7 separate regions of the Homo sapiens genome follow, and all the other regions are linked to region 3. The links are contacts of gene promoters, found by promoter capture Hi-C in blood cells and fetal thymus (Javierre and others, 2016). All regions are on one chromosome and are shown on one strand. The core of a region is centred on a gene start or on the middle of the fragment in contact, and the rest is flanking DNA. Distances in the headings are between cores, read along the strand shown.

Region 1 (3,725 bases), core at 900-3,399, 1.6 Mb after region 3:
CAGTGGTTAGCAATAATGATCAGCTAGTGGTTCCCAAACTTACGTATCATATGCATCTTGGAAGTTTTTAAAAACTCAGATTTTGGGATCCTGACTTAGATCTACTGAATCAGAATTTACAGATTCAAATTCCCAGTGAGGCCTAGGAATTTGAAATGTTGAATGTCCTTCACGATGCAGCTAGACAAGCATTTGGGAATAAAGCATTAGGTGACTATTTCAGTAGACTAAGGAGTGGGAGGCCATTTAAGCTCAAAGGCTATTCTACTTCTCACTATATTTCTAGTACCTAGCACAGTGCATGGTACTTGATAGATGCATCCTTTCTCCCATACCTCGCCCTACACATCTCTTCATGTGTATCCTTATTAATATCCTCTATTATAAACTGGTAAACATGTTTCCCTGAGTTCTGTGAGCTGCTCCAGCAAAGATGGGTTTGTGAGAATCCCAACTTTTGAAGCCTGTCAGTCAGAAGTTCCTGAGGCCAGACTTGCAACTCCTGTTGAGGGGGCAGTCTTGGGGACTGAGCCCTCAACCTGACACTGTCTCCAGGTAGATAGTGTTAGAATTGAATTGAAGGACACCCAGTTGGTGTCCGCTGCAGAACTGATTGCTCACCTGGTGGTGGAGAGAACCCCTCCTCTCCCGATAGGGTTGCAGAAGTTGTCTTCTGTGTTGTTGATTGCTGTGGTGTGGGAGCAGAGGGGGGAAAAAAGCTGTTGGAGAGTTTTTTCCAAAACAATAGGAGATTATTTAGATTTATAAAAATAGAATCAAAGTAGATTAACTGAGCACATTGTGAAATATAGAGTAGAGCTGTGTGTAAGGAGTATATCTTAATGTCAAGCTGACACCAAATTGAATGTTTGCTGGAACGTTCAAAAATCTAAGCTTCCCAAATCTGTGAAAACACTCAGGTTAGTAAACAGTCTTATGCAAACAGCAAGACAATGCTCAAAGCCATTTAAGGAAAAAGAACAGTAACTGAATTCTCTTATGGAAATGTGAGATGTTGTTTTAGTAAGTACTGATGGTGTTATACTTTTTGTTTATTCGTTTGCTGGTATTTCAGTTCCTAAAATTCCTTCAAATATGCTGCAAAATACAAACCAAGAACTTGGTGGATTTTCCATTTGTTTTCCTGTGGGAAATGATGGAATTAAAAACCTTGAGGATTAGACCTTGAGAGTTACCTTCCAGTGTTTATGCCACCATTATACAAAATTCTGGAGGACAAAACCCTTCCCACTTAAAAACCAGTTAGTTTCAGAAAATCACCTCATGTTAGGAGACTGCATCATTATAGTATGTGTGTTAGCTTTAGGTATAGATCTAAAATATTTTTAATATTTTAAAAACTTAAGCCTTTCTTCATTAATTTGGCCTAATACAAGTTAGAATAACTTTAAAAATGAGTACAAACAACAAGGAAGGGCCAGGCGCAGTGGCTCAACGCCTGTAATCCGAACACTTTGGGAGGCCAAGGTGGGCAGATCACCTGAGGTCAGGAGTTCCAGACCAGCCTGGCCAACATAATGAAACCCCATCTCTACTAAGAATACAAAAATTAGCTGGGCGTGGTGGCACACGCCTGTAATCCCAGCTACTCGGGAGGCTGAGGCAGGAGAATTGCTTGAACCCAGGAGGCAGAGGTTGCAGTGAGCCGAGATCGCGCCATTGCACTCCAGTCTGGGCAACAAGGGTGAAATGCCGTCTCAGGAAAAAAAAAAACAGTTTCTGTGACTGCTAGACAAATGTTGAGCAAGTAAAACACCAACAATGTTGAACTTAGATATTGAAATAGCTGCTCTGTACAAATAAAGTCTACTGGGAGTATAGACTGAATTACCATCTTTTGACTCTTTCGCCATAATGATTGGCATTACCGGAAGGGATTACCTTGCTTTGAAGAGCTGCTGGACAGTAGAGCAGAGAGCATCTATTACCATTGTAGGTGCCTTTCAGTTAGGATTTTGGATTTATAAGCAAACTCCAAGAAAGAGCCTGGTTCTGAGTTTCTCTGAATAGCTTAGGTCAAGTCCTAAATTCTGAAGCCAACTCCTATAATTCCTTCTTTATGTCTTTGGCATGTGAAGTAGGCAAATTTCGAACTTTATAATAATAGCCTAGACTTACAAATACTTGCCTTGGTAATCAGGATGAGTTTTTGAGAGACAACATAGTCTAGTGTTAATCGCGTGGACACCAGACTGCTTGAGTGAAATACAGGTTCTACCATTTATTAACGGAGTAATGTTGGGTAAGCTATTTAGCCAGGGTCCTTATCTGTAACATGGTGATAATAATAAAGATTAAATAATAGGTGAAAAATGTTTAGAATACCACTGTGTTATTAGTAAGCACCATGCATAGGTGTTTGGATTTAAAAATACTGGCAAAGGCCAGGTTGGGTGGCTCACACCTATAATCCTCGCACTTTGGGAGGCCAAGGCAGAAGGATCGCTTTAGCCCAGGAGTTCAGGACCAGTCGAGGCAACATAGATTCCGTCTCTGCAAAAAATTTAACAGAATTAGTTGGGCATGGTAGCGTGTGCCTGTAGCTACTTGGGAGGCTGAGGTAGGGAGGGGGAGGATTGCTTGAGCCCACGATTTCGAGGCTGCAGTGAGCTTATGATCATGCCACTGTACTCCAGCTTGGGTGACAGAGCAAGACTCTGTCTCTAAAATAAAATGAAAATAAAACTGCAGGCAAAAATGCCAACTGAAGAGTGAACATGAACTTTTCTTTGCATTTTTCTTGGGCCTGAGACTTTAAGAAGTGCAGGGCAGTTAAAATGATGAGATATAATTCTCACCTATCAGCTCAGCAGAAATTAATAAGATTAAAAAGATGCGTAATATATAATATTGCAGAGTGCATGGGGGAATTGATATACACATTCATGAACTGGCAGAGACAAAAATGGGCACAGAACCATTTGGAAAGCTATTGTGTATTTTAAAAAATTTCAGTAGCACATTTTTTATATCATGAAATTTCACTTCAGAATGTCAGTCCTGTAGAAATACTGACGCAAGTGCAAAAACAACAAAAACCAACTTGTACCTTCAAGGCCAGAAAGAGTTATTTCACCAAATAACATAATTGAGGTACATTAACTTTATTAGAAGTAAATCTGATAATCTGCTCACATTTTAAATAGTTATGGTTTAACTTCAGTTCTTGAAGTCACATATTTTTACAATTAGGAATGCTAACAGGCTTTTTGTGCAATACGAAAAGATGACTTTAAATGCCTACAATTATTTTGTGTCCTTTTATTTTTTTTTAATTTTTACTGACCTACTACAAAGCACTAAATATTTTATGTTCTTAATCTGAAGAACAATAGACATTCTCTATAAAACAACTCTTGCTTATTCATGAACTTTGTACACAAGAAGCTTAATAAGACGGGCTCAAAATTATTTTTCTAAATATATTTCCTATACAAAATAATTTCAAGATATAATTGTTACTTTTGTGTCTAATACTGTATGTTAAATAATAAAATGGTAAGCATGTAAAAACTACAATACCACAAAGATTGAGCTATTTTGCCAGTAGTATACTCCAACTTTAGTTCTAGAACAGTTGTAGAAATGGGTAAACAAACTGTTTTAACTGTACTCTTAACTGAAATATAGTACCTTATGCAGTAGCAGAACATATCAGCAGAAGAACTTCACTTGACCTGTACTTAAAAACAAAACAGATGCAA
Region 2 (4,009 bases), core at 87-2,586, 1.7 Mb before region 3:
CCCTTAAAGTCTTTTTTTTTCTTTTTTTTTTAAGACAGTCTTGATCTGTCACTCAGGCTGGAGCACAATGGCGCGATCTCAGCTCACTGCAACCTCCACCTGCCGGGTTCAAGCAATTCTCTTGCCTCAGCCTCCTGAGTAGCTGGGACTACAGGCGCGCGCCACCATGCCCAGTTAATTTTTTGTATTTTCAGTAGAGGCGGGGTTTCACCTTGCTGGCCAGGCTGGTCTCGAACTCCTGATCTCGTGATCCGCCCGCCTTGGCCTCCCAAAGTGCTGGGATTACAGGCGTGAGCCACCGCGCTCAGACTTTAAAGTCCATTTTAAGTCTAGACTTCTATGAAGGTAGACTGCCGAGATGTAAAAGAAATAAAATTAGTTATTTAGCTTTTAGATCGGATTACATTTTCTGCTTTGATTATTCTAAAGCCTCCAGTAAGGCGTAAAGGGAAAGCTCTAAGTAGCGCATCCTGGGAAATGAGCAGATCAGGGAAGGGGTGTTAGACCTGGTATTATGTCTAAAGACGATTTTCATTTAAAGGAGGATCTTCCCCCGGGCAGCTCAAGGTCACATCGTAAATACCTTATAGTCTAATTCAGTGTCCCAAAACAGGACCCCGACTCCCCAGATCCGGGTTGGGGGTGGCTCAGGGCCTAAAGTTCCTACCCTCGCCCAGGTGACACCATCTCCAGGAAGGTCTGCACCCGACCCGGCGAAGCGCTGTCCCGCTTCGCACCCCCCACTGCTCCAGGTACGTGCGGCGGCCTCCTCGGGAGACCCCGCCACTTTCCTGGAGCGTAGCCTGCCACCCCCCGTCCGGGAACCCCGGATTCTCACGGCAGAGAACAGACACCATACTTAAGCACAGGCTCTCGCATCCGACATCAGTACAAGGCTGGGGGTTGTTGGGGGACGGTTGAGCCTTGGGAGGGAGGGTCAGGGTCTGGACAGGAGCCGCGGCCGCCAGATGGGAAAGAACACGTGGGAGCAGTAATGTCAAGTGACACTTAAACCCTTAGACGCCGATTCGTTATAACGCGAGGAAATCTAGAAGAAAAAGCAGGTACCATCAGCGAATTCTAAAATCTCCTAAGGATTAACTTCGGTTATTTTCTGCTTAGACAACGCTTTCTATTCCCGACTTCCTCTCCAATAATGACCCGAATCTGTCGAAACTTCTTGGAAGCCTAATTTACCTAATCCCACGTCCCTAACGGTCTTCGGAAGCGAAGCAGTGTCAACAGTCCCTGGTAAACACAAGTAGTATTACAAGTCGGGAGCTCTTCAAGTCTTGGATGAGACTGTAGAGCGGTCTTGTGCGGCAATGTGCTACCTTAAAATAAATAAATAAATAAACCCCTGTTATGTCCGGAGTTTGTTTCCACCCGGAGAGGAATGGAAGAGCACCAGAGAGCGCTTAGCTTTCTGGTTGGATGTTTTGGGTGAGTTTCTTGGCGCGCATGCGTGTTGTGTCTCAAGGGCGGGTTTGAAGGGAAGTGGGTGTTGACCTGCGGGCAACTGACGCTGTTGTCAGATTACACCCACGACGGTGCGGGTCTCGGGCGTTCTGGAGATACGTAGGGGTGAATTTATGTTTCCGACGATTGCATCTGGAGGGGTGTGTAAGACTCTGTGGCTGAAGAAAGCTATTACGCTTCTTATGTGGGTCATTATTTTAAAAATAGCATTTCGCTTTTATTTGCTTGACTGCCTCTTCTCAACAAATTTTAAGCCCGCCACTACATGTGTTTGGTTTTGCCCTACCAGCTCTGGGGTTGGGGAGTGCACTGTTATGGTTATTGTTGCTCCTGTGGCCATTCTCTTGTCATCCCCACTTTCACATTTTGGCGTGGTGTATTAATAGACTGAGTGGGATTAATGGGTAAATATGACTTTATAGTCAGCTCTAATCCTGGATTCAATATCAGAATTTAGATTTTCAGCTTTGTGGATGTTCGACATTTTAAAAACAGTTATTGCAAAGAGGTGAAAATTTTGTTCTGAAGTCTTAAGGAAACAGAGAAAGTTTTTCCGTCCTTAAGTGTGGGACTTGTTTTGTGACCAACAATATGAAAGGCTCTGAGGTCAGCTTGGAGAAGAAAAAAAAGATTAAGATGCCAGTGAAGAGACTTCGTGAGGTAGTTTCTCAAAATCATGGAGATCATTTGGTTTTGCTGAAAGATGAGTTGCCCTGTGTTCCTCCGGCATTGTCTGCAAATAAACGTCTTCCTGTTGGAACGGGGACTAGTTTGAATGGAACATCACGTGGTATGTGATTCCATGTAGTTTTTCAACCAGTTTTAGTTTAGTAAATCTTTAGTCCTTATTTGTTTAAATTCCCAAACGTAAGATATAAGTCTAGTTTGTACAGATGTTTGAAAACTGACCCTGTTTCCCGGGAAAATGGCCAGGAAGCCTATAAAATGTTTGAATAGATGGAATGAATGAAACTTTAACGTCCCCTGTTGTGCTTTTTTTTTTTTTTTTTGCATTGACTTTTGCATATTTTTTTTTTTATATTTATGGTGGATACACTTAACTTGTATAATGTGCTTTATTTTCCCCCACGTAGTGTTTTTTATAGTTTTCCCCCAAAGTAGTGCTTTTTACCTAATTCACTACTTTCTTTTCATAGTGGGAAAAGCAGGACTTCTGCCAATTGATGGCTTCTATATTCCAATTCACTTAATCTGTCTAGAGCTCAGTGAAAATAAGGATAACATATGCTTTACCCACTTCGCTGCTAATTGTGAGGATTAAATTAATGAATATGTGAGCAAAAACAGCAAAACGCTTTTGTAATGCTGTTCTTTGGGGGATACAGCGGTGACACTCAAATAGTACTGCTGTTAAATTAGACCTTTACATCGTATACATATTTCTACCCATAGTTTGTCCACATCCAATAGTGTATGGTTATATTTTAAAATGTTTCGTGCTTAATCTCACTTTATTGTCAGTACCGAACCTTATTTTCCCAAATATCAACTGTAAAAACTTTCATTCAGATATGTTTAAATACATTTTCTTAACTTTTTTTGCATGCAAATTGTCTTTCCAACTTCTGCGTTATATGGAGTTTATAGATCTTGAATCATGCATATACAGTTTCTAAAGCTAAGGATCTGATTTTAAAATCACTAAAATCTATTCCTTTGTTTTGTTAGGTTCATCAGACTTAACTTCTGCTAGAAATTGTTACCAGCCTCTATTAGAAAATCCCATGGTGTCAGAAAGTGTAAGCAAAAGGATTCTTAATTATGCTCACGTTAAAATTTTCAGTATTGTCAAATAATGCATTCTTAAATTATGTTTGATTAGCAGCATGCCTTGTTTTTATTTAAATATCACTTACCAAAACAAATGTTTTATATACTACAATTGTGACTTTGAATGGTGTTTGAGACATTAAACAAAAGGCCTTCCCTAGAATCAAAAATACCTATTAGTAAGATAATGGCCGCTGAAAGAGATAGGATAACTGAAAAGAAACTCTCTTACTATTCAGGGAAAAGGTGTTCTTGCCCAGAGACTTAACATGTTCTTAGGTAAAAGAAAAGGAACAACTAACAGTACAATTTTTCTTTAATGTGAGGTGTGCTTGCATGTCATTCTAACACTTGTGAGAATGGTTTTGGTTTTCTTAGAAGGGAGGTTCTTTAAGAATAACATGAAATTATCATCTTAACTTTATAATGCCGAAAGTATTTGATAAATACAATGTTTTGGTTATGAGATCTAATCAGACTTTGACGGCTAATCATAGTGTTGACCTATGTATTGTCAGTTTAATAAGTCTGTATAATGAGAGTTTCACAATATGCTATTTTGAAAATTGAAGCTGGCAAACTAATAATTCAATTGAGACTATATGACAATTTTGTCAAAAGCTCACAATAAAATGTATAATTATTTGCTGTACTTGATCCCTAAGTAAATGCCTAGACTTTGGAGTGTTTTTTTGTTGTTTTGTCTTTTTTTTTTTTAAGCAGGCCTTATTTAATGATA
Region 3 (4,091 bases), core at 761-3,260:
TTTTGAGACAAGATCTCACTCTGTTGTCCAGGCTGGAGTGCAGTGGTGCAATTTCGGCTCACTGCAACAACCTCTTACCTCAGCCTCTGAGTAGCTGGGACCACAGGCGCACACAACCACACCTGGCTAATTTTTTGTATCTTTTGTAGAGACAGGGTTTCACCATGTTGCCTCAAACTCCTAGGCTCAAGCGATCCTCCTACCTCAGCCTCCCAAAGTGCTAGGATTGCAGGCAAGAGCCACCACGCCTGGCCCAGCTGTCCACTCACCCTTTAAAAATGGATTGCAACCATCCTTAATTTCCCCAGAATTATGTGTCCCACTTTGTTTCTGAAGCTCAGCGCATACCTGTTTATCACATACACTGTAATTACTGATGTCCTTGTTGTTCAAGTTATGTCCTTGATGTCCAAGTTATATTTTGGTAAATTCCTTAAGGATCATGTTTTATTTGACTTTATATCTGCAGCAATTAGTGTAGTTCCTGACAAATAGGAACCACTATTCCCTTCACTATTTCAATAAATGTTGAATGAATATTTTATACACAGCTAACCAAAGGGCTTGTACCATATGCCCTACTAATTTTATTCTAAGAAAGCACGATGTTCAAATATATTTGAAAAACAGCAGATATTTCAACAATAAACATGTTAATTCTGCTTGGGTCATATGTAATGCCCATGAGAAGAACAAGCATAAATACAGACTCTCTACATAAAGATAATAGCTCATCCTTACTAAGCACTTAAGCTGTGCCATTTACTCTGCTAAGCAATTTACAATTATTTGATTTAATCCAATGACATAACTCTCTGCGGGTTAAGTTCTATTATTTGCCTTATTTTACAAGATATGGGGAAACTGAGCACTAGAGAAATTACATAACCTCAAGATCTCACAAGTAGTAAGCAGTAGTGCCAGGGTTTCAACCCAGACTTCCTGACTCTGGAGCCTCCACTCTTAATTACATGAAACTCAGACTTCTTGGCGGTAAGTGATGCTTCCGAGATGCTTAATGTGGTACTCTGACCCGCAATGAGTGAGCTTCAATGAGAAAAACTATGGATGGACCAACAGCACGTTTTCCCATATTCTATCAAATCGTGAAGATACCAAACTATGAAAGGGTCTACCTGCAAATTAAGTCCTTGAAGACAAGTATATGTATATCCGGGGTTTTCTTCCACATGCTTTCAACACACTACACTTTTGCTCTGGACACAATATCTTAAAAATAAATAAATAAAGCTTTGGCTTTTAATATGAACACAGTAATTATTTTTCTATTACGACCTGAAAACCTAAATACTTAAATACAAAGTCAGCATTTCCAAGACAGCCAAGAGCCAAGAATTAAAAAAAAAAAAAAATTAAGGCCGCATTTATAGTTTTGAGGAATGGAGATCCAAACAAAACAGTCCACAAGTCATCTTGGACGCTGAAGTGTGCAGAACTGCTAGGGCATCTACCCAATCACATGGGGGAATTGCGGGTACCTTGATACCGACAAGTTAGCTTCAAAGTTCCCTTACCCGAGCCTCTAAATCAGCTGAGACCAATCATTGTTAACGCTCTCCGGGGCCGTCTTGAGGACTCCCAGTTGGCAATCTGGAACGTGTCCAGAACTTGGTGGGGCGGGGGGGGGATCATATTTCGTGGAGAATGGGGGAGGTGAGCCCTGGGTATAGGGATAACTTTTTAACTAGCGTTAATTGGGGTCTTTGCGGCCAGGCTGTAAAGATTCCCGCCACACTAATATGAATCAGCCATGGCCTTTTAATTGGAACGCCGGAACTCTGCCTTGTTTTATTAATATCTTAATAACACGTTTCTATAATGGACATGTTGGTTCCTTGTATTTTAAAACGCAGCCACAAACTGAGGCGATAGCGATCACGTTATGCAGTCCCCAATCGTCCAAGCCGAATAGGCTGCATGAAGTATCACTCAAAAACATTCATTACCGTCGGTGTGTTGAGTGGTAACGCCAGTGTGCGAATTCATTAATGGAAATCACGGGACCCCGAGCGGTTGGAGATCTGCCACACCCCTCTGCCTGCGTTAAGACAGCCTGACCCGACCTCTGGTAAATTAATGCGCAAAATGGCGGTTGCACGTCTGTTTCCCCACCCCGGCGCACAATCCTGAGGAAGGACGTCACGTCACCAGGGCAACGACGCTCTTGCGTAAAGGCCCGGCCCAAGGGAACGTTCAGGGCGTCTCGGCTTTCCCCGCTGCTGCTTCTGCTAGGCCCAGTGCGAGACCAGAGCACGAGCGACTCCCGTCGTCCCCGGCCAGGCAGATGTTGGCCTAGTCCTGGCGCGAACGAAGCGCGCTATTTCCCTGCTTCCTCTAGGCCAAGCCTGCTTTACGGCAGGGCCCGCCTCGGGAGCGAGCACAGACCGGGGCAGCGAGGCCAGCCAGGCGCCGACGAGGTCCCCGAACGCGCACGCGCTCCGTTCAGCTCCGGGTGGCGGCCGCCGGAGTAGACGTTAGCCATGGAAACCGAGAGCTGGCCCGGGCGGGGCCGCGGTGAGCTCGTTATTCGGCCGCCGCAGCTTTTCTGCCTCCGCATTCGGGCACTAACCAACCTCCCGGCGGGAGCGCCCAGCCCGAGTTTACCTGCAAAAATGCGGTCCCTGGGATGCCTTCGCGTCTTCTCTTCCCTCGGGTGACTTGAGGTACGTTCGTTGTCCGACGTCCACCTCGGGACTTCTTCGGCATCTTAATGTCCAAGCCTGTGCGGAGAGCCAAGTTGTTCTAGGGGCTTTCATTGCCACAAGAAACATATTTTTCGTTTTTCGTTGCAAAACCTTTAAGTGCAATTATTGCGCTTAATGAACTCAGTCATTAGAGATAGTAATTCAGTGTGATTTTAACTTTCCTTTGAAAGACTACTTTAGCCTGTTGAATTGTAGCATTTTGTTTCTAAGAGACTCGTACGAAATGGAATATGGCACACCCACCCGGAGCTGTGTCCGTTAGGTAGAACTGTACTCTCGCAATATCTCCAACTAAACCTCTTTTGTCCGAATTGTTCAACTCATGGCCCCCTGAACGTGAAGCGCTCCTTCCCCACTGATCTCGACCTCTGTCCCCACAACCTCTTGTCTCTCCAGGACCAGAATTTACTCCAGTGAATCGGAAGTTGTTTTCCATGCCGCTGAATTGGTTATCTGCTCTGTATCCATCATTTTTCACTTACTCATTTTTTACTATTTTTAGGTGTTTGTTTTCTTCATTAAATCATTCCTGCAGTTAGGGCAAAGACTGCCCTTCATGTTATTTGGTATCCACCGCCACTCACGCCAAATCCCCAGACCTTTAGCATAGCATCCAGTTCAGATGTTGCCTTTTCACGAATTTAACTGTTTGTAGCATCTGTTGGCTGCTCCTAAATTTCCTACTTAAAGAGCTGCCTTCTAATTATTAACTGCTGTGGAAAATACCAATCAGGGAAGCTTTTTCTTTTTTAAGAGCTTTATTGAGATGTAATTTACATTCAATACAATTCACCCATTTATAGAATTGTGCAACCCTTACCACAGTCAAGTTTGGAACATTTTCATCACCCCAAAAAGAAACCTTTTACCCTCAGCAGTCACCACCTCCCTCCCCCCATTATCCTTACCCCACCAGCCATAAGCAATTACTAATCTGTTTTCTGTCCCCATAAATTTGCTTATTTTGGACATTTCACATAGACGGGAAAATACAATATGTGGCCTTTTGTAACGGGCTTTCACTTAGTGTGTTTTCAAGGTTCAGCCATGTTGTAGAATGTATGAGTACTTCATTCCTTTTTATAGTCTAATTTCATTGTGTGGATATATCACATTTATCCATTCATTGATGGACATTTGGGTTGTTTTCATTTTTTGGCTGTTAGTAATATTTCTTCTATGAATCTTTTGTGTACAGATTTTTGTGTAGACATATATGTTTTTATCTCTGTTGGGTGTATACCTGAGAGTAGAATTACTGGGTTATATGGTAACTCTATGTTTAGCCTTTTGAGGAACTGCTAGACTGTTTCCCAAAGGAGCTGTATCATTTTACATAACCACCAGATATGTTTGAGGGTTCTG
Region 4 (3,597 bases), core at 540-3,039, 1.9 Mb before region 3:
AGCTAACAAATACAGCTGGTGAGCTGTCATGGAAAACATAGAATAGGTAATAACAAACTTCATCATTTCAATAGTTTCAGAAACATAATTTCAAATTGATCCTTACAAATACCTTGTGAAGCAGCAGAACAGTTTACAGATAAGGAAGTGGACGATCAGAGGTATTAGGGACTTGACAGAAAGTGGCAGAAACAGAATCTGAACTCAAGTAAGGGGTCCTATTCAAATAATCTGACTCTATTAAGCAAAAAATTTAATCTCTTCCCACGTTTCTTAAAGTTTTCTTCCCCGTCACAACTCCAACTTCATTCTCCTGTCTCCAGGAATTTGCTTTCAAGGAGGATCATTGATCAGTAATTTGGACTTAAACATGAATTTTACTAATATCACATTCCAAATTTCTGCATTGTTACAGCCTTAGTTTTTGTTATGGAAATAGCTTATCCCCAACTACCCCGCTAACTCTAGTTACCAACCATTAGAGTAGGGCCTTTTTTTTTTTTTTTTTTTTTTTTGAGAGACAGGCTCTCACTCTTGTTGTTGCCCAGGCTGGAGTGCAGCGGCACAATCCCGACTCACTGCCGCTTTAGACTTCTTGGGCTCAAGGGATCCTCCCGCTTCGGCCTCCCAAAGTGCTGGGATTACAGGTGTGATCCTGCGCTCGGACAGTTGGGACATCTTAATACAGTATAACCTCATCTTAACTTGATTACATCTGCCAAGACTCTATTTCCAAATAGGGTCACATTCTGAGGTTCCCAGTGGACAAGAATTTTGGGGGGGGGGGCATCATTCAACCCAGTACACCAGCTAAATGTTGCTAGTCCTCACCGATTTACCCTTGAACCTCTTTTCTTATTGCACAGCCTCTCCTTTGACAGTCTTTTCCACTCCTATGCATAGATACAGTTAGAGCTAATATTTGCAGGAAAAAAATATTTTCACAGAAAGCTGTGAAGTGACAAAGATGTAAACAGTAATGTAAATGTTAAAAGTAGTGGCAAAAACAGCAATTACTTTTGCACCAACCTAATAGGGGCCTTTGCTTCAATGTTTCTTCTATTAAACCATCCCGACCGCTCCTCTATGGACAGATTCAAGATTCACAGACGCTACTCTAGCTGCTTAATTCTGGAGTAAAATAAAAACTTTCAGAAAGACTACTAACTAAAGTATTGTCTGTACGTATTATTCTCTAAAGCATCATTAGCATAGGCTTTGCAATTAGGAAGTCTGTGGGTTTGTTCCTGGCTCTGCCGTGGGACATTGGGAAAGTTAATCTCTCTGAGCGTCGGTCCCCACAGATAAGAAAACACATATTCTTGTTATTTCTTGAGAAGATTAAATATTAGGCAAAACGCCTAGCACAGAATAGGGTCTCAGCATCTTCTGCCCCCCAAGAGCATGAATCAAAGGTTCGGAATTGCGTCGTCTCTCGGCTGCCCCTTGGCAGCCAGGTCCTCAGTGACCTCTTCACAGTGAGCTGAGACCGAACCTCTTCACAGCCGCGCGTGGGTGCGGCTTTGGGGCGTGGTGGGAGGGAAGGATAGGGAGGCCGGCTCCGCCCCCTCAGGGCGACCGGCGCGCCTGATCGCCGCGGCCTCCGCGCCCCCGCACTCGGATTCGCGCCCGCCAGCGCCTCTTTTCCCCTAGTCCTGGCGACGGCAGCACCTGCAAGGGTGGGTCCAACGCGGAATGAGGCACAGCCTGGGACAGCCCGGGCCCGGCGCGCCGCGGCCGCGCGAGGCCCCCGCCGTCGCCGACGCCCGAGCGCCGGAGCCCCGGCCCCGCCCCGCGAGCGCCGAGACTTGTTGGCCGCGGAGACTGCGACCCTCTTCTCTCAGTCTGCCTTACTACCATGCCGCTCTACGAGGGCCTGGGGAGCGGCGGGGAGAAGACGGCGGTCGTGATCGACCTGGGAGAGGCCTTTACCAAGTGAGTGGCCGTGACGCCAGCTGTGTTCGACCCGAGGGGAGGGCGGGTGGCAGAGCCCCAGGCACTGCCTGGGTCCTCATCGCCGACTCGCTGGGCAGCTCCGGGCCTCCCCTTTTCTTCAACCAGCGCCCTTGCAAATAACAGCTCTTATTATTTCCTCCCTGGGCGATGCGAATCCGAGGATCGGGGTCTGACTCCCAGAGAGGCCCAGAAAGCTTCTGTTGAATTGCCCTCGTCGCCGCCCCTTGTCATCACCCCAAACCCAACAAACCCTTTGGGATCATCTGTGTAGGGGATGACAACCGTGACCTAGACCCCGCTTACCCTGGGCTCCTCAGTTGAGGAAGGCAGCCAACCGAATGTAAATGCTCGATGACGAATTTCATCATAAAATATTGAACGGAGTTTATTTTGGTGCTGAAAATGGAAAGATGTTTAAGACAGGGCTATCGCTGCTCAAGAATTAGGGAGACTGGGCACATTAAGAGGTGAAACCCTATAGATAAGATTCTGGAAATCCTTTGTTGGCTCCCCTAAACTCGAAGGTTAGATTTGACATGTTTTAAACAAACCAACTTGTAAACAATAGAGAGGAGGTTCTCAACCTTTCGGATGGCATAGATCTCTTTAATGGCTGGATGAAAACCACAAATGCACAAATCTTAAGGTACTTATACACAGTTTCAGGGAATTGGCAGACAATCAATGTGGTCCTGGGACCCTAGATTAAGAGTCCTTGTGATGGGCTCAACAGAGAGGGAAGTAACAGGCAATTACATCATATATGTATTTATGAAAATGAAACATTTGAAAAATCTTTTTATATCTCTAGGCACTTCCTGACGTGTAGTAGGTATTTAATAACTATTTATTGACTAAGTGGTTAAAAGAGCCTATTTAAAAATTGGACCCCAGGAACTCCAGAATTGGATTAAACATAGTCCTTGGTTAATGACATTCTCTTATTGTTCTATGCGAGGCCCTTCCTTATTTATATTTTCTTATTAAAATTATTTTGAAAGCGTAATAAACAGTTCGAGGCTTCTAGTCAAAGATAATTATTTTGGCTGTACTTGGAAGAAATAAGCAAAAAGCTATATTTGAAAAAGACAGCAGGAGGATGATAAGATAAATGTATGAAGTAAAAAAAAGGAATTGAAGTCTAATGGCTTGCATTCTGAGATGTTTGAGGAGCACTGATGCAAGTAAACATGGAGACGGGAATAGGAGGAGATGGAGAGAATTATTTGGGAATACGAGGAGAGCAGTATCAAAAACTAGACAGGACAAGAAGACAGGATGTTAAGACTAAACTAGTATGATGATCATTTTTAGCAACGTTTTTAGCAAATTTTTGTTTTACTAACATGAAACAAAAATGGAAATACCTAAATACTCAAGAAAAGAGCATCGTTTTTAAAATAATGAAATATGTGGTTTTAAAAATAATACTGTAATTCCAGCAGTTTGGAAAGCTGAGGCGGGCTGACCACTTGAGCCCAGTAGTTCAAGACCAGCCTGGGCAACATGGGGAAACCCAGCTCTACACAAAATACAAAATTTAGCCGGCGGTAGTGTCGTGCCCGAAATCCTAGCACTTTGGGAGGCCAAGGGGGGAGGATCGCTTGAGCCTGGGAAGCGGAGGCTGCAGTGATCTGAGTT
Region 5 (3,601 bases), core at 960-3,459, 1.7 Mb after region 3:
AATGTTCATTATTACTACCGTTTTAAAATTTTCCTTTGACTAGACTGACCTCTGTGAGGACAGTGACTGGATGAATCTATTTTTATTACCATAGTACATATAATATTAAAAAGGCGAAATAACTGATTTTCTGAATGAGTTAAACCTTATGATTAAAACTTTTTCTGAACAAAATGTAAAAACTCATTTTCTCTCTGTCAGTGTAAGCAAATTACCTTTGTAGTTTTTTAAATTGCAAGGAATGGAGGATGAAGAGCTGTTTGTTGTACAGTTAATAAAAGGAGAGAGACTTTTTTTTTTAAATGGCTACTACATGCCATTTATTTATAGCTTTATTTATTGCATAAGACAGTTATAAAAAGCAGGTATAATTATCCTTGTTTTATAGATGAGGAAATTAAGGCTTAAAGAGGTTAAGTAATTTCTCCACCATTACAAAGATAGTGGATTGTAGAGCAGATGTTGGAAACTATGTATCTGCCTGTTTCTAAAATCCGTTAATATTCCACTGTACCACTTCTTGGGGGGAAAAATGCATTTAAGGAAAAAGCTAAAAATGTAACATTTACATTTTCTAGTAGGGAGAACCTAAAATGATAAAAGAAGCAGGAATCACTAGAGTGGTGGATTTTCTTGAGAAATTACTTTGGTTACCGTAACTAGAGTAGGCATTTTGTATTCTTTTCCTATATTTATTATTTGAAGACCCAAAATGTCCTCCTACTACCCCCTTCCCTTCCACCCCTGCATTGTAATCAGATATAATAGAGCCCGTGTTTATGGCTGCAGGGCAAATGTCTTTATTGTTTGTTGCTGGTTTTAAAGTAAAAGTTCTACATATTTATATTTGTATAGCGTATTAGTCACTCGCATCAACACTTTGAGACATTTATTTTAGCTAATGTTTTATTTAAAATCTGGCATTTTTTATCTACTAATTTCAGGTCTTACATAGAAACCTATAATATGCACAAATGTGGCTTCATTGTTTTATCCAAAGTGGTAAGAAGACTGTTACATTGACTTTTTTAAGGCCTTGTTTTTTAAAATTTTTTGTTAACTTAGCACAGCAGAACAGTTTCAGATAGTTTATTCATTATGCTGTTTATATCCACAGAAAATATATGTGAACCTCGAAAATTTGAGACACGTCTCAGTTAATTTAGAAAGGTTATTTTGCCAAGGTTGAGGACGCACCCGTGACACAGCCTCAGGAAGTCGTGTTGACATGCGCCCAAGGTGGTCAGGGCACAGCTTGGTTTTGTACATTTAGGGAGACATGAGACATCAATCAATATATGCAAGAAGTACGTTGGTTCGTTCTGGAAAGGCGGGACAACTTGAAGCAAAGGCAGGAAGACTGGAAGTGGGGAGGGAGCTTTCAGGTCACAGATTGGTGATACACAAATGCTTGCGTTCTTTTGAGTTTCTGATTAGCTTTTCCAAAGGAGGCAAATCAGATATGCATCTATCTCAGTGAGCCGAGAAGTCACTTTGAATAGAATGGGAGAGGTTTGCCCTAAGCAGTTTCCAGCTTGAGTTTTCCTTAGTGATCTTGGGTGCCCAAGATACTTTCCTTTCATGTACATTTCCTATGTTATTTCATTGATTGATTGCCAACAAAGCCTTGTTGCTCTCTTGGATGTTTGGACAAAGCTTTTGGTTGTATGCTGGAGTATGCTCTTCTCCCTTCCTCCTCCTTTCTTCTGATGAGCTTGCAGTGCTCTGGACAATTAGGAGTGCGGGTTACTTTGTGCTGTTTCTCTATCTTTTTCGCCTCGGCTTCGCAAGGACAGAGGAGATTTAGTGCAAATCCCTGAGAGTATTGGAGAAAATGTTCGTTAGGTAAAAAGTAAAGTAGAGGTTCTGCTTCAAAGAGTTTCCTCCCCATCTAATTAAGACTAAATAGTAACTTATCTTAGAAGCAAAATTTATTCAAAGACCTATGCTAACATTCTTAAATATCTGCTAGCTGTAATAAAGAAATCAGTGTATTTTATGTTCTTAGCTCCCACAATTTAGCCTAAATATTTGCCCTGGCGTGCTTATACTGGTCCAAGCAAGCATTAAGTCATAGCCTGTTCTTCTTCCTTATTTAAAAGTGTTTTTACCTTTCTCAGCATTCCACAAGTTACTTCAAGTTCTAAGTTGCTAGTCAATGAAGACAGATACAGAATGTGAAGTCCCGTTCCAGCCAATAGAAACCGGACACAGCAGTAAAGTAGATGTGTCAAGTTATAAATGACCCTGTCTCCTTTGTTCAGTGTAGCAAAACTGCTGGCGACTGTACCCTTTTGTGCAGAAAGTAAAAAAATGGCCTTGCTGAAGAAATAAAATTTACGTTCAAGTGATACTTCTTTATAGCACCAAAGAACAAGCATTTTTGGCAATTGTATATTAAAATGCACATAGTTCTGTAACATAACCATGATTATTTTAACATTATGGGTTTTAAATATTTAACCAATAGTAATTTGAAACCCCTTCCTTCTTGCTCTTCAATTTGGCAAGTAAAGTTGATGCTTTTGGAAGCTGCGTCATGTTTACCTAGTAGTTGCCTTTGCCTTGGTGTAAAATTATCTCTTTGTGCTTGAATCATGAAAGAATCAGGTATGGAATCCTCATCAAATTATAACTACCGTTTAAACAAGTATATACTTTTGGCTTTTGTTCATTACTTATTCACTTAATGAGTCGTAATATATTTTCTCTCTGTTTATTAGTGGCAGAATGAGAAATTTAGAAAAGAACATGTTTACAAAAGAAGCTTTAGCTTTGGCTTGGCGATATTTTTTACCTCCATACACCTTCCAGATCAGAGTTGGTGCTTTGTATCTGCTATATGGATTATATAATACCCAACTGTGTCAACCAAAACAAAAGGTAATACTTAGTGAGTTATTTTTCCTTAGCAGAAATGTAAAACAAGTACCATATTTTTATAATAAATATTATATGATTAAATATGATTTAAATAAAATGCCAGTATTTTAAAATTATAATATGTTTGTGAAAAAATATTTACATTTAGTACAACTTTTTTTTCTTCCTGGTTGCAGATCAGAGTTGCCCTGAAGGATTGGGATGAAGTTTTAAAATTTCAGCAAGATTTAGTAAATGCACAGCATTTTGATGCAGCTTATATTTTTAGGAAGCTACGACTAGACAGAGCATTTCACTTTACAGCAATGCCCAAATTGGTATGTTGCCTAAAATAATTTGGTTTTTTCAAAATGAGCAATTATACTTTATTGTCCATAAAACCTCTCAATCTCCAGAAAATGGAATAAGTATTGATAGTGTTCAAGACTTTTAGCTTTTTTTTTTTTTAGACAGAGTCTTGCTCTGTCGCCCAGGCTGGAGTGCAGTGGCACCATCTCGGCTGACTGCAACCTCCGCCTCCCGGGTTCGAGGGATTTTCCTGCCTCAGCCTTCTGAGTAGCTGGGACTACAGGCATGCGCCACCACACCAAGCTAATTTTTGTATTTTTAGTAGAGACAAGGTTTCACCATGTTGTCCAGGATGGTCTTGATCTCTTGACCTCGTGATCCACTCACCTTGGCCTACCAAAGTGTTGGGATTACAGGCGTGAGCCACTGC
Region 6 (3,511 bases), core at 886-3,385, 1.8 Mb before region 3:
TTATCTTTAACTCTTACCAAAAAGCGTTATACTCATAGAAAGAGCACTAATACTTCCGTAAAATTCTAAGCTGAATTCAAAGACGATACCCTTTAAGTGAAACTTCACGAGAGCCTGAGCACAAGGAGGTGAAGTGGATGCCATCAAGATTCTGGGTCAGGGTCGGGACGCGGAGGAAGACAGGTTACTTCGCGCCTACTGCTTTTTCTACTTTTTGTGAGAGTATACCAGCATCTCTCCCTTTGGCTTAAAGAAAGAATAAAGTGAGGAGAGAATAATAATATAAAAGATAAATAATAATTCCAAGGAAAGGAATAGAGCAGCTTCTCAGATACCACGACGCCAAGCGGCTCAAAGTACGCGAACCGAAGGAGGAGCCTTTGCTTTCCCCAACCCCGCCTCCATTGCTTCTGCACATGCGCGCCGCCAGCCTCTCGCGGCCCGCTTTTTTCCCACAATACTCCTCGTCCTGGGGGCCGGAGCCGCGGAACGAGCCACAGAGAAAAAGGTTATTGGTTGGCAGTTCAGCCAATGAGCGGGCCTGTTACTAGTTTGCGGCATCCTGTGGTATAGGGGAAGCGCTCCGGGCCTGGAATCCCTACGCGTCCCTTTGGGTTTAGCACGATGAGCTCAATCGGCACTGGGGTGAGTTCGCTGTCTGTCGGTGTAATAGTTTAACCTAAGGATTGGGGTTGAAGGGAACTCGGACAGACCACATGGGGTTCGCGGACCCGGGGTGCTCTGAGACCGCCTTCGGCTGGGTGGGCCATTTGCAGCTGTTTGGAGACCGGTCGTCTTTATCCCCTATATGCTAGGCCTGCGTCTCAGGTGACCGTGACTCCTGAAGCTTTTCAGCGCAGGTGTAGCCGGCTTGGCGTCGCCGCAGTGAGGTTTGGAGCCGCTTTGGATTGCTGAGTCACTTTCTTCAGCCACTTAGGGAAACCGAAAGTGGAAACTCGTGGGGCTTGAAATAGTGTGTTCTCTTGAGAACCACCGAGGCAGTGAGATTTGGGATTCCGGGGTCTGGAGATCGTGCTTTTTGTGGACTGCGTTTGCAGTTCCTAGGGTGCTGCTGATTCACAGGCCTTCTCTGTCTTTAAGTGTGCAGATCATTGACCGCTCAGTTTAAGAGTCACTGGAAATCCTGTCGGAACAGAACTAATAAAAATGGTCTGAAAAACAATCTGATGAATCCTTCAGTTTTTCCTTTCTCGTTTTTCCTATACAAATTACCTAACAGCGCTTGTAGGCATTTATTCCGTAAACGTTTAAATGGTTACTTAGGAACTTAACAGCTTCAGACTTTTCATAGACTGTTGAGGATTTTGCAGTGGGACTTGTTAACTTGTTTGGCTTTCCTTTGTTAAACGTATTGCATATGTGCAGTCAGTTTACTCCTTTTATGTACTTCTCTATATAGAAAATACAGTTTCTAAAAGATTTATTGGTTATTTGCACTAGAGTTATTGAATAATGAGTTTCTCAGTTCCTCAATTTCTACTTCTTAACAAGATTCTCATGCTCAGCCTTAAGTTCAAGTACCGGTGTTCTAAATTTGATAATAGGCAACTTATGTCTGGAATGGTTTAATCCATTCAGTTATGAATGCTAAAGTTCTGCCATACTTTTCTTGGATAAGTAAATGCTCAATATTAAATCTTGTAGCAAACTGACTTTGCAATTATATTAATATTACCTTGAATTAATAGTATTTCATTCTACAAACCTTTTAAAGAATACTTGATAATGTAACCATGTGGGATATTTTAGTAACAATGGTAGGGTTAATGATCTGGGTTTAACAGATCAGGAAACAGACTCAGAAAGTACCACTGCTGAAGGCTTTTCTTCTGTCTTCATTTCTCCCAAGAACTCCAGATACGAATATTTGTTTGTCTGCTTGACATGTCTGTTCACTTGATCGTTTAATAGTCATTTCGTACTGCATGTGAAAGTAGAGCTCTGGGTTTTCTCCTCACCTTGCCATTTTGCATCTACTACAGTCTTCAGCTCAGTGAATGGTCATATGAAAAAATCTGTTATTCATCTTTAATTCCTTTTTTTACTTTACTCCCAGAACCAACGCTTTAGCAAGTTTATTTTTTTATTTTTATTTTGTTTGAGACGGAGTCTTGCTCTGTTGCCAGGCTGGAGTGCAGTGGCACGATCTTGGCTCACTGCAACCTGTGCCTCCCAGGTTCAAGCAATTCTCCTGTCTCAGCCTCCCGAAGAGCTGGGACTACAGGTGCGCACCACCACGCCCAGCTAATTTTTGTATTTTTCGTAGAGATGAGGTTTCACCATGTTGGCCAGGATGGTCTCCATCTCTTGACCTTGTGATCAGCCCGCCTCACCCTCCCAAAGTGCTGGGATTACAGGCATGAGCCATCACGCCTGGCCTAGCAAGTTTATTTTTATTATTTTTATATTTTACTCTACTCTCAAAAAATATTCCCTTCTACCTCTTCTCTCGTCTAAGCTACTACCGCTATCTTTGGAACACCTTATCTTTGCTTCTGTTGTTCTCTCTACAGCTTATTTTCCGCATAAAGCCAGAATGATGTTTTTAAAAATATAGATGATACCACTCCCCCTGCTTAAATTTCTCATTGCATTTAGAATAAAATACAGAGTCCTTTTTCCATCCTGGAAGACACAACATAATCTGGCCCTCAGCTACCTCACTAACACAGTTTACTCTTCTTTCTGCTGCTTACAGTGCTTGGGACACAGTGACCTTATTTCTGTTTCTTGACTGTGCTAGCCTTATTTCTACCCTAAGATCTTTGTGCCAAATGTCAAGAAGACTTTTCCTTCATATCTTAAATGGCTAGCTCCTTGTCATTTAGGTTTGACTCAGCCTAAATATAACTGCCCAGAAGGCCTTCCCTGATGATGTAGTCTGTAGTAGTTCATTGCTTTACTCTTTTATTTTCATCTTAGTGCCTTTTCTGATTTACTGCTGTACCTCTAGCACCTAGATTCATGTCTGATGTGAAACTGAAGGACTTAATGAATGAGTATACCTTTGTATTCCGTATAGTAACATAATAGATACTCATTAACTGCTTGGTGAATGCCGAATGATTTGTTTGAAGTCTTTTAGTTTGTTAATGGCAGAGTTATCGTTACAAATTTAAATGTTCGAACTCCAGTGCTGGTTCTACTGCCCCATATTAATCTTTTTCAAAAATGAGTTTTGTAGTCTGGGTGAAAAGTGTTCTGACTTCACCTGGGACCTGTATCCATTACTCTTCAATAGCTGAAATCGAAGGTATATAGCTTTATCTTAGCTACTGTTGCTGCTCTGACAAGTTTCCCTTTCCTCTCTTGAAAGCAAGGTCTTTGTTGGGATATAACAGGTTCCTGATGTTTCAGCCATTTAGAGGGGAAGAAACTGTATGGTCATTACTGCCAAAGATACAAGCTTACTGTTGCCCTTTTCTCCTTAAGTATGACCTGTCAGCCTCTACATTCTCTCCTGACGGAAGAGTTTTTCAAGTTGAATATG
Region 7 (4,080 bases), core at 561-3,060, 1.6 Mb after region 3:
GCCTCAGAATAATAATAATGATAATAATAATAACGCCACCAACAATACTAAGAGCTAACATTTACTGAGTGCTTACTATGCACCAGATATTGTTCTAAGTATACATTTATTATCTCATTTAACCATCCATAATACTGTGGTATAGACACTTTTATATCCATTTTATAAATAAGTAAACTGAGTTATGGAGAGATTAAACGACTTGCCAGTAAGATTCAAAGCCTGTGTACAAGCTCACGCTTGATTCTGGAGCCAGTGTTCTTAACACAGTATCTTGAGAATGTTAAACTAAAAAGTTTTTAATTTACAGTATTCTTTCCACAATTAAAAAAGAAATTATGAGTAATTATTTTTAGTTCTTTCTTCTCTTCAGGCATTTCCCATGGTTCTTTTCAAGACATAATACATATCATTTAGTGTTGTAGATCTGAAAAAACAAAAGTAGCGTGAAGATCAAAAATTTTCTAAAGAGACGGAGTCTCGCTACGTTCCCTAGGCTGGAACACCCAGGCTTCTCCAGCCTCACACCTCTGAGTAGCTGGAACCACCCTGTCCGCTAAGGTCAATGTTTAATCGTATCTTTGTAGGTCTACTGACCAGTTAAAAAGAGGTGCTGTATACATTGGTTGTTGTCTTGTCAGAGTTTGATGCTTCTATATAGACCATTGTTTTTACATGCTAATACAATTGAAAGCCACTACAGATATTTATATTTACAACCCAAAGCTAGGTTTTAACAAGAAACTCATAAGGCAAAGGTGAGAAGTAAAATAATTTAGCGCCAAGTGGAGATATATGTGCAATGCTACTTTGTTGGGCTCAAAACATATTTTTCTTTTAGAAGACTGACAGGCTTGAAGTTTATGCCTCCAAAGACAAAAGTGATTATGTTTTGTTTAGTAGCTTGCAAAGTTGCCAAAGGCCATTTTTTCTACTCTTTCCCTGAAATTGGTTTATATGCTTATTAAAGTCATTTATACCTATTTGCAAATGCTTAACATAGTTTCAGATTTTAAGATTTCCCTGCAACTTTATTTCCCTTGAAGTTTACAGCAACAGGAGTTCATTTTTATTTTTAATTGCATTTATTCAGTAAGTAAACTCCGCCACAGAAAAACTTAGTAGACAAGGTGAGTTCCCCTGTGCTCCGTGGCAAAGAGTGCGGTGGGTGACATTGACCCATGGTTAGGTAATCTGGTAAGGAAAGACCCCGTTGTAACACATCTGAGCAACGAGACCAAAGGAAGGGCTTGCTGCCACGAGGCGAAGTCTGCTTTTTTGAACAGAGAGCCCAGCAGAGTTGGGCGGCAATCGTGCCCAGCACTGAGGCCGAGGAGAAAGAGAGCAGGAGCATTACATTACTGCACCAAGAGTAGGAAAATATGATGCATGTTTGGGACCAGGCAACCGAAATCCCTTCTCAGCAGCGCCTCCCAAAGCCGGGCACCGCCTTCCTTCGGAGAAGGCGCAGAGTCCCCAGACTCGGGCTGAGCCGCACCCCCATCTCCTTTCTCTTTCCTCCGCCGCTAAACACAGACGAGCACGTGAGCGTCGCAGCCCGTCCCAGCTGTGCCTCAGCTGACCGCCTCCTGATTGGCTGAGAGCGGCGTGGGCTGGGGTGGGGACTTGCCGCCTGCGTCGCTCGCCATTGGATCTCGAGGAACCCGCCTCCACCTCAGGTGAGGCGGGCTTGCGGGAGCGCGCGCCGGCCTGGGCAGGCGAGCGGGCGCGCTCCCGCCCCCTCTCCCCTCCCCGCGCGCCCGAGCGCGCCTCCGCCCTTGCCCGCCCCCTGACGCTGCCTCAGCTCCTCAGTGCACAGTGCTGCCTCGTCTGAGGGGACAGGAGGATCACCCTCTTCGTCGCTTCGGCCAGTGTGTCGGGCTGGGCCCTGACAAGCCACCTGAGGAGAGGCTCGGAGCCGGGCCCGGACCCCGGCGATTGCCGCCCGCTTCTCTCTAGTCTCACGAGGGGTTTCCCGCCTCGCACCCCCACCTCTGGACTTGCCTTTCCTTCTCTTCTCCGCGTGTGGAGGGAGCCAGCGCTTAGGCCGGAGCGAGCCTGGGGGCCGCCCGCCGTGAAGACATCGCGGGGACCGATTCACCATGGAGGGCGCCGGCGGCGCGAACGACAAGAAAAAGTAAGCCCATTCCCTCGGCCCGCCGCCTTCTCCCCCGGCGACCCCGCCCGCCTGCCCGCCCTGGGCTCCTGGGCCGGCCTCGGCGTTAATGGGATTGGGGGGGGCAGCCTTTTTGTTTCTGCTGCTGCTCCCCTCCCCTCTCTTCCCCCAACCTCGCCGGCCGGGCTCCCCCGCTGTCCACGTCGCCATCTTGTCGTGGGGGGTGGGAGACGCCTCGAAAGTGCTTTCAGGGGCCGGGGTCTGAGCCCTGCTTGCCCTCCCCGCCGGCCGTGGGGGCCTCGCGCCGCCCACCTACCCGCCTCAAAAACCCAGCCTGCTCTGTGGCCCCATCCGGAGGGGACTTTACCCAGCCTGAAAACCCCGGGAAGAGAAATGAGCTGCAGCTCGGTAGCCGCGGTTTGCACCCGGAGCTTCCGCTCCTTCCCGCCCCCATCCTCTCCAGTTCCATTGAAAACTCGGCCCTGGGGCGGACCCTGCACGCTGGTCCTGGCTTTCCAGTGGACTTGGGGCCTTGAGTTCCCGACTGAGGGACTCGCGTGGTCGGATGCGATCTTGTCCTGTAGTTGTCCAGCCGTCGCGGGTGTCTTTGCCTTTGTGCATTAGGGATTTGCCGCGATGGCCTTAAGATGCGAACTTTTTAGTTTGCACGTGCAGGTTTTGTTTCGTTTTAATCGCCTTGAAAAACTTGCCTAGACTGAGAGTCAGAGTAATGGGAATTTAGGGAAATGGCAACATTTTAAAGAGAACTTCAGAATTGGATACTTGAGTTCATATCACCTGTCACGAGAACGCAGATATTATAAATGAATATATGCCTCATTCATTCTTCAAATAATGAAAATGTAGGGGCTGGTTAAATTTAGGCAGTTTTAATGATACTGAAAAAAGTATATGATGAGTGAATGAAATGCGGCACTAAAATGTTGCAAAAATTTTCGAACTCTGTCTCATTTTCCTGAAATTGAAGTATATTAAAGGAAAACCGTCAACATATATCTAAAGTAAGTAATCACTCGGTTAGAACTTAATGCAAGTTTTATAAATCACCTTGAAGTTTGAGTCTAAGGGGTACATTAGAGATTAAGAATTGTGAGTTGGACCAGTGGTGTTAAGAGCGGACTCCCCCATCCCCCAACACACACACAATTTTGCCCACTTTGGCATTTTAACTTTTAAGGAAATCACTTAAGGAATTGAAGATTTAGAGTAAGAGTTTTGGTTAGTAGACTGGCTTTGCTGTTAAATCCTTCCACTCTTCTGGCAGAGAGATTAATTTCCCTAATCAGTATCAGCAGAAGATAAACTTGTTTATATTCCTGCTGTTTTGTAGATCCCTTCTCCTGGTCCTTCTTCAATAGAATATTAAATTCTTAGTTTGTATACAGCAGAGAAGGTCACTTATAAAATTCAAAAAGTGAGCAAACAGGTCTAGATTAATTCCAAGAGTTACCAGGAATTAATTGCAGTTTATTTTGCGGAGGTGATTACAGTGCTTTTGATGAAATGATAAAGCTGCTATATTGTAAACCTAAGGCAGATTACCTCTGTGTAGTGCCAGTTTTCTATCCTTATTATATATTGAATCATACTTAATACAATGCATTAAATTATGTACCACTTTTTTTATATACAGTATCGAACTCATTGTTTTGCCATTCATCCGTTCAGAATATCAGAAGCAGTTTTGAAACGAATTAATAAATTAGCTACTGTTCATCAGCCCCAATTCTAAATAAGCTCTTAGATTTTCCTCAGCCCATCTGTTACTTTCAAAATTTTCTCATTTGAAAACTTGGCAACCTTGGATTGGATGGATTCATATTTCTTAGTATAGAAGTTCTTGATATAACTGAAAAATTAAGTTAAACACTTAATAAGTGGTGGTTACTCAGCACTTTTAGATGCTGTTTATAATAGATGACCTTTTCTAACTAATTTACAGT

Evidence for each region. Contacts are between HindIII fragments. The CHiCAGO score rates a contact against its expected background, and 5 or more counts as called.
Region 1: a contact is called between a fragment that was not itself captured here and the fragment with the promoter of PCNX4-DT in region 3, in 1 of 17 cell types (erythroblasts). The highest score is 5.5, in erythroblasts.
Region 2: a contact is called between the fragment with the promoter of TIMM9 here and the fragment with the promoter of PCNX4-DT in region 3, in 4 of 17 cell types (naive CD8 T cells, total B cells, naive B cells and 1 more). The highest score is 9.7, in naive CD8 T cells.
Region 4: the fragment with the promoter of ACTR10 here is called in contact with the fragment with the promoter of PCNX4-DT in region 3 in 8 of 17 cell types (activated CD4 T cells, non-activated CD4 T cells, naive CD8 T cells and 5 more); the score reaches 11.3 in activated CD4 T cells.
Region 5: a fragment that was not itself captured here is called in contact with the fragment with the promoter of PCNX4-DT in region 3 in 1 of 17 cell types (fetal thymus); the score reaches 6.4 in fetal thymus.
Region 6: a contact is called between a fragment that was not itself captured here and the fragment with the promoter of PCNX4-DT in region 3, in 1 of 17 cell types (fetal thymus). The highest score is 5.1, in fetal thymus.
Region 7: the fragment with the promoter of HIF1A here is called in contact with the fragment with the promoter of PCNX4-DT in region 3 in 2 of 17 cell types (fetal thymus and total CD4 T cells); the score reaches 5.2 in fetal thymus.

The regions. Positions count from the first base shown.
Region 1 is chr14:61,713,315-61,717,039 of GRCh38, forward strand. The region is part of intron 1 of HIF1A (hypoxia inducible factor 1 subunit alpha); the gene reads left to right. It overlaps HIF1A-AS3 (HIF1A antisense RNA 3), which reads right to left. Exons shown (of 3, transcript NR_144368.1): 2 at 3,655-3,703; 3 at 2,244-2,514. Among named protein-coding and RNA genes, the nearest start is that of HIF1A-AS1, 19 kb to the left of the region's middle. The HindIII fragment of the contact is 2,514 bases long and covers 893-3,406 here.
Region 2 is chr14:58,426,195-58,430,203 of GRCh38, forward strand. TIMM9 (translocase of inner mitochondrial membrane 9) reads right to left here and starts at 1,337. Exons shown (of 6, transcript NM_012460.4): 1 at 1,198-1,337; 2 at 860-1,048. KIAA0586 reads left to right here and starts at 1,525. Exons shown (of 31, transcript NM_001329943.3): 1 at 1,525-2,269; 2 at 3,169-3,239. The coding sequence starts at 2,071. RefSeq lists enhancers at 1-472, 1,487-1,536, 1,607-1,796. The HindIII fragment of the contact is 11,466 bases long and covers 1-4,009 here.
Region 3 is chr14:60,089,736-60,093,826 of GRCh38, forward strand. It overlaps PCNX4-DT (PCNX4 divergent transcript), which reads right to left and starts at 2,011. Exons shown (of 5, transcript XR_943918.4): 1 at 1,968-2,011. It overlaps PCNX4 (pecanex 4), which reads left to right and starts at 2,188. Exons shown (of 11, transcript NM_001330177.2): 1 at 2,188-2,684. RefSeq lists enhancers at 2,009-2,138, 2,229-2,418, 2,382-3,015. The HindIII fragment of the contact is 2,213 bases long and covers 1,250-3,462 here.
Region 4 is chr14:58,198,360-58,201,956 of GRCh38, forward strand. It overlaps ACTR10 (actin related protein 10), which reads left to right and starts at 1,790. Exons shown (of 13, transcript NM_018477.3): 1 at 1,790-1,935. The coding sequence starts at 1,859. RefSeq lists enhancers at 1,233-1,362, 1,983-2,172 and a silencer at 1,433-1,822. The HindIII fragment of the contact is 4,366 bases long and covers 1-2,148 here.
Region 5 is chr14:61,764,153-61,767,753 of GRCh38, forward strand. SNAPC1 (small nuclear RNA activating complex polypeptide 1) reads left to right here. Exons shown (of 10, transcript NM_003082.4): 2 at 2,724-2,883; 3 at 3,060-3,200. Among named protein-coding and RNA genes, the nearest start is that of SNAPC1, 3.5 kb to the left of the region's middle. The HindIII fragment of the contact is 1,111 bases long and covers 1,655-2,765 here.
Region 6 is chr14:58,244,297-58,247,807 of GRCh38, forward strand. PSMA3 (proteasome 20S subunit alpha 3) reads left to right here and starts at 547. Exons shown (of 11, transcript NM_002788.4): 1 at 547-645; 2 at 3,454-3,511. The coding sequence starts at 625. RefSeq lists enhancers at 101-150, 191-390, 559-1,456, 571-1,020. The HindIII fragment of the contact is 2,580 bases long and covers 846-3,425 here.
Region 7 is chr14:61,693,703-61,697,782 of GRCh38, forward strand. It overlaps HIF1A (hypoxia inducible factor 1 subunit alpha), which reads left to right and starts at 1,811. Exons shown (of 15, transcript NM_001530.4): 1 at 1,811-2,137. The coding sequence starts at 2,103. HIF1A-AS1 (HIF1A antisense RNA 1) reads right to left here and starts at 2,121. Exons shown (of 2, transcript NR_047116.1): 1 at 2,005-2,121. RefSeq lists an enhancer at 1,130-1,499 and silencers at 1,570-1,869, 2,170-2,269. The HindIII fragment of the contact is 8,611 bases long and covers 1-4,080 here.